2 separate regions of the Homo sapiens genome follow, and region 1 is linked to region 2. Evidence: promoter capture Hi-C in human tissues and cell types (Jung and others, 2019). All regions are on one chromosome and are shown on one strand. Each heading gives the region's core, a stretch centred on a gene start or on the middle of the fragment in contact. The rest is flanking DNA. Distances are from core to core; before and after follow the strand shown. Region 1 overlaps TNRC6C (trinucleotide repeat containing adaptor 6C). Region 2 holds the start of BIRC5 (baculoviral IAP repeat containing 5).

The links. Contacts are between HindIII fragments. The study calls those that stand out against the background at their distance.
Region 1: a fragment that was not itself captured here is called in contact with the fragment with the promoter of BIRC5 in region 2 in 3 of the 25 tissues and cell types used here (bladder, lymphoblastoid cells and spleen).

Annotation. Positions count from the first base shown.
Region 1 is chr17:78,089,109-78,091,808 of GRCh38, reverse strand. It overlaps TNRC6C (trinucleotide repeat containing adaptor 6C), which reads right to left. Exons shown (of 23, transcript NM_001142640.2): 16 at 202-369. Among named protein-coding and RNA genes, the nearest start is that of TMC6, 38 kb to the left of the region's middle. The HindIII fragment of the contact is 5,688 bases long and covers 1-2,700 here.
Region 2 is chr17:78,212,998-78,215,697 of GRCh38, reverse strand. BIRC5 (baculoviral IAP repeat containing 5) reads right to left here and starts at 1,445. Exons shown (of 4, transcript NM_001168.3): 1 at 1,271-1,445; 2 at 909-1,018. The coding sequence starts at 1,381. RefSeq lists an enhancer at 799-1,700. The HindIII fragment of the contact is 20,243 bases long and covers 1-2,700 here.

The DNA of each region.
Region 1 (2,700 bases), core at 38-2,537, 120 kb after region 2:
TAAGATCTAATGGTTGGGTTTTAAGAAGTTTGATCAGTGACTAGCTGAGATCTTATATGCACTATAATGGAATGGGTTATTTTAAATCCAACTTTCAGTGCTCAATTCTTAGAAAAGTATAGAATGGCCATGCTATACAACAGGACGATCGATTAATAAGCCAGCAGTGATCCCACCACAGGCATCCTAGCTCAGACGTACCATGCTTGCTAGGGTTCTGCTCCAGGGGGGAAGCGGCACTGGGCAAGTTATCCATGGAGTTGGGGTGCGTCCACTGGGGGAGGCGTGACTGGGACTGGGATGGGTCCTTCACCGACAAGCCACCGGTCATGTCCATGCTGTTGACATTCATGTTTGGGTTCAGTCCAGCTAAAGAGAGAGATGCGGTTAGGATTCGCCTGCTCCTCTAAATGACTTCATTCTAAAGCTCTCCTATAGAAGCTATTTCAGTCTTCGCTTACAGCAAATTTTTTTTTTTTTTTGAGACGGAGTCTTGCTCTTGATGCCCAGGCTGGAGTGCAATGGCACAATCTTGGCTCATTGCAACCTCCGCCTCCCAGGTTCAAGCGATTCTCCTGCCTCAGCCTCCCAAGTAGCTGGGATACAGCAAAATATTTTAACTATAACTTTTAGTGCTGGTGAAAAAATACTACTTATCGTCATAACAACATGTATTTCTAGGAATATTATTCCTAAATTAAGGTGAAAATGTGAATAGTCTTTGATTAAGTAAGGCCCACAATTCTCTTCATTTTACTTGTTTCAGTGCTGAATAAACATGGTCCTGAGGCTTCTCAGAGTCCACAGGAAAATAGAAAAAGTCCAAACTATTAGGAAAATCTTTCTTTGTTTTGGGATATCTTACGGAAACTCATCAGGTCAAAAACACTTTTCCAGAACTCTAAAGTACCACCTATGAAACAGACTGATAGGATAATTCAGTTCTACCTTTAGTGAGTTTCCTTTACAAAAGTCTGCTCTGAAAGAGTCTGTGAATTAAGTATCAAACTACTTTTAAGGAACTGAACTATTTGACAGCGGGGGTGCTGCCATCTGCCCCCAGCTGGGATGGTGAGCTGAGGCTTCTGGGCTCATTCCTTATAGCTAAAAGCAGGTACCTGGTTATTTGTCCAGGACCTGCACTAAGCTAGGTTAATAAAGAAAGATGATGAGGAGGACAATGAAAAGAAGGTTGAAGTAAAGAGTTTCTGATGAGGACACTAGTTTGGAGCAGGACAGACTGCTTGTTTGGAAGGGAATAACCAGCACAAGCGCCCCCCTCCCCTTGTATTTCCAGCTGCAGTTCCCCTTACCACATACACATACCCCATAGGTCCTTACCGTAAGTACTACGCCACACGGTACGTAAGCACAGTGAGCCTCTACTACTTAGCCAGGTGCTGAACATTCTGGTTCTTACCTTTATTTCAGAGGCTGCAAATTCAAATGCCCATAGGAGCCAGGTGGGCCATGCACATGAAGAAGTGGGCTTCATGGGGACTGTGGCAAACCAGAGAGTGTCTGTCCTGTCTAAATAAACAGGTGCTACTGGGGCCAACCACCTATTGCTACCTGGAACATAGACCCACTATAGCCATTTTTAAGAGAAGCCAGAAGCCACTTTCCCCAATTTTTGAATGTTGGCATTAACACACACCTATGCACATGCACACACACACTTCGCAGACCTAACAAAACGCCTTTGCAAGCCCATCAGTGCCACAGGGCTGCCTACTTGCAATCTCTGCTGTGTGGGTTCTTTTCGTTTCAGCTTGTACAGATCTAGCCAGGTAAGGTGGCAACAATGTCAGGGCTTCAACCTGGCCTTCAGAATGCTCCAAATTTCACAATTTGGCGCCAACCCATCTCTCCCAACTTTCCCCTCTGGGAAAGTCAGCTAGACTGGCCTGGCCCTTGCAAAATGGGCCCCTGAAACAAGCCAGGCCTCTTTCTTCTGTGCTACGTGAGGCTTCCCCTTTATTTGGAAAGGCTTCCTCTTTATTTACTGTAATCCTATCCAATCATTTGAGGTTCAAGCTTAATCCTACTCTCTGATTTTTCTTTCACCACTCAAAGTGAAAGTGAACTTTTCCTTCTCTAGAGCCCTGTAAGAATCACATGACACTGGTATCAAGGTTATTTTTTCCCATTTATATGCCTGCTCTTCCTATCTAGATGGCGAACTCCAGGTGGCAAAAGACTGAGAATAACAACGACAGGCTGAACATGAGGGAAGGAAGGTAGCTAGGAGCCCCCACTACTGACCATGGGCTGCTGGTTTCTTTACATGAATTGATGAGTGTCTAACAGGCTCTTCAACATAGGTGCTGCTGCAGAGAAATGCTGAGAGCCAACAAGATAGGCAATTTTACAACCAAAGTTTCCTAGACTTTATTAGTTATTTGCTTTTAATACATTTATAACTTTACTGTGAATATTATAAAATATTATCCAAATTATTTTTCAACTAATTTCAAAGATTCACTGCATGAATTCTTTAACTTGTACTAAGAGAAAAAATCCTTAAGAGTAAAGATAAGTGGTCGGGCACGGTGGCTCACGCCTGTAATCCCAACACTTTGGGAGGCTTAGGTGAGCGGATCACTTGAGGTCAGGAGTTTGAGACCAGCCTGGCCAACATGGTGAAACCCAGTCTCTACTAAAAATACAAAAATTAGCCAGGCGTGGTGATGCATGCCT
Region 2 (2,700 bases), core at 196-2,695:
ACCATAGCAAACATACTAAGAAAAAAAACAGCTACTCTCTTCTGGCCAAAAAGAAAAACAACTGGGGTGATTCTCCAGGGGAAAAAAATTAAAGCTGTGGAAGCAACTGAATCCGACAGAAAAAAAGGTGAGAAAAGAATATGGCATTACAGTGTGGAAAGACAGATACCATCCGAGTACAGAATTTCATTGTCATTAACTAGGCATCTTGAAGAAAAAAATCCAGAACAACACTGAAGTATATGCTTTCTTTCTTTTTTTTTTTTCAATTTTTTATTTTTATGACGGAGTCTCGCTCTGTCGCCGAGGCTGGAGTGCATTGGCACAATCTCGGCTCACTGCAACCTCCGCCTCCCAGGTTCAAGCGATTCTCCTGCCTTAGCCTCCCGAGTAGCTGGGATTACGGGCGTGCGCTACCATGCCCGGCTAATTTTTGTATTTTTAGTAGAGACGGGGTTTCGCCAAGTTGGCCAGGCAGGTCTTGAACTCCTGACCTCAGGTGATCCGCCCGCCTCAGCCTCCGAAAGTGTGAAGTGCACACTTTCAAAGGGTAATTTTTGTGCTGTGTAGGTTATATTTCAATTAAACTGTTTTTTAAAAAATCTCAAAAAAAGCACTTGGACGTTCCTGGGAGTTCACAACAACAGGGTCTGCTGATGTATTCTGTTGAACATGAAAGGCATCAGGCATCTTACGTCCACCCCAAGGCATTTTGGTCAAATGAGATTTAATTAGGTTGTAAGCATCACCAAGGCACCAGCATATAGAGAGGTATCCGTTCACAACAGCTGTTTAAGAAGCAATGAGGGTGGAAAGCAACCCTCCCATACTAAGTGTCTTTGCAACTCAAATCTTTTGACAACTCAGTTCAAAACAAAGCCCATCGAGGCTGGCCAGAGAAGACTTACATGGGGTCGTCATCTGGCTCCCAGCCTTCCAGCTCCTTGAAGCAGAAGAAACACTGGGCCAAGTCTGGCTCGTTCTCAGTGGGGCAGTGGATGAAGCCAGCCTCGGCCATCTGCAAGGGACAGCACAGCTCGTGAGTGGACGTGGCAGCCCGGAACCCCGAGGCCCAGCCACAAAGGCCTCGATGGGGACAAAGCAGGGAGGGGAGGCCGGCCTGGACCCAAGGGGCCCAGCCACAGTGGCCTCGCTGGGGACAGGACGGGGAGGGGAGGGCGGCTTGTACCCCCGAGGCCCAGTCACAGTGGCCTCGCTAGGGACAGGGCAAGGCGGGCGTGGGGGACCCCAGGAGGCCGGGCAGTCTCACCCGCTCCGGGGTGCAGGCGCAGCCCTCCAAGAAGGGCCAGTTCTTGAATGTAGAGATGCGGTGGTCCTTGAGAAAGGGCTGCCAGGCAGGGGGCAACGTCGGGGCACCCATGCCGCCGCCGCCACCTCTGCCAACGGGTCCCGCGATTCAAATCTGGCGGTTAATGGCGCGCCGCGGGGCATGTCGGGAGCGCACGCCCTCTTAGGCGGTCCACCCCCCGCGGCCTTCTGGGAGTAGAGGCGGGGCGGCGCGGGGTGTGCCGGGAGTTGTAGTCCTCCCGCCGCGTGGCTCTGCCCGTGGTCGCGGTGCACCCAGCGACGCCGCGCCAGCTCGTCCCTGCCCACACCTAGCGCCCCCTCGACTGCTTTCAAAGAACGCGTGCAGGCCGGGTGCAGTGGCTCACGCCTGTAATCCCAACACTTTGAGAGGCCTAGGCAGGAGCATCACTTGAGTCCTGGAGTTCAAGACCAGCCTGGCCATCACGGTGAAACCTTGTCTCTACTAAAAATACAAAAATTAGCTGGGCGTGGTGGTGCATGCCTGTAATCCCAACTACTCGGGAGGCTGAGGCAGGAGAATCGCTTGAACCCGGGAGGCAGAGGGTGCAGTGAGCTGAGATTGTGCCATTGCACTCCAGCCTAGGCAACAAGAGCAAAACTCAGTCTAAAAAAAAAAAAAAAGTCAGACAGGAGAGCTTTACAGGGTGCCACCTCTGCAAAAAGCATCTACTCCAGACGGGCATGAAGGACAAATGAACAGGGGAGGGATGGAGTGCAGCAGACATCGCTGTCCCGGCGAGTACATCGTTGACTGCACGACCTGGGTTTCCAGGAGGGCCACCTTCTGGAGTCAGGGGCCAGGGACTGGGCCACTACCGTGATAAGAAGACAAGGGAGCTGGGGAAAGCCCAGTGGAGGGTGGGGGCCTGTGCTCAGGGCAAACTCCTCCTTTCCCTTCGCAAAGCAGGGCGTCCCACCAACAGTAAGTCCTGCAGCCTATTAAAAAAAAAATCAGTGTGTCCTCTGCTTTGGAACAGGGTGTTCTGGAGTCACTTCTGGAGCTGGGCATCACATCCACTCACTTCTCTGGTTCTATGGCCAGAGATAAGAGGCCTGGCCTTATTAGCCCTCCAGCCCCACGCAGGCCTGGTGCCTCCACTGTCTTTTTCATTTTGGGGTTTATTTATTTATTTATTTATTTTTGCAACCTCTCCCCACCCCTCCCACCCCGCCCCCATTCTTTAATACAGTAACTTTTTATTTTGATGTTTATTTATTTATTTGAAACTGAGTCTCGCTCTATCGCCCAGGCTGGAGTGCAGTGGCATGATCTCAGCTCACTGCAACCTCCTCCCCGCCACGGGTTCAAGCGATTCTCCTGCCTCAGCCTCCCGAGTAGCTGAGATTAAAGGCATGCACCACCACACCAGG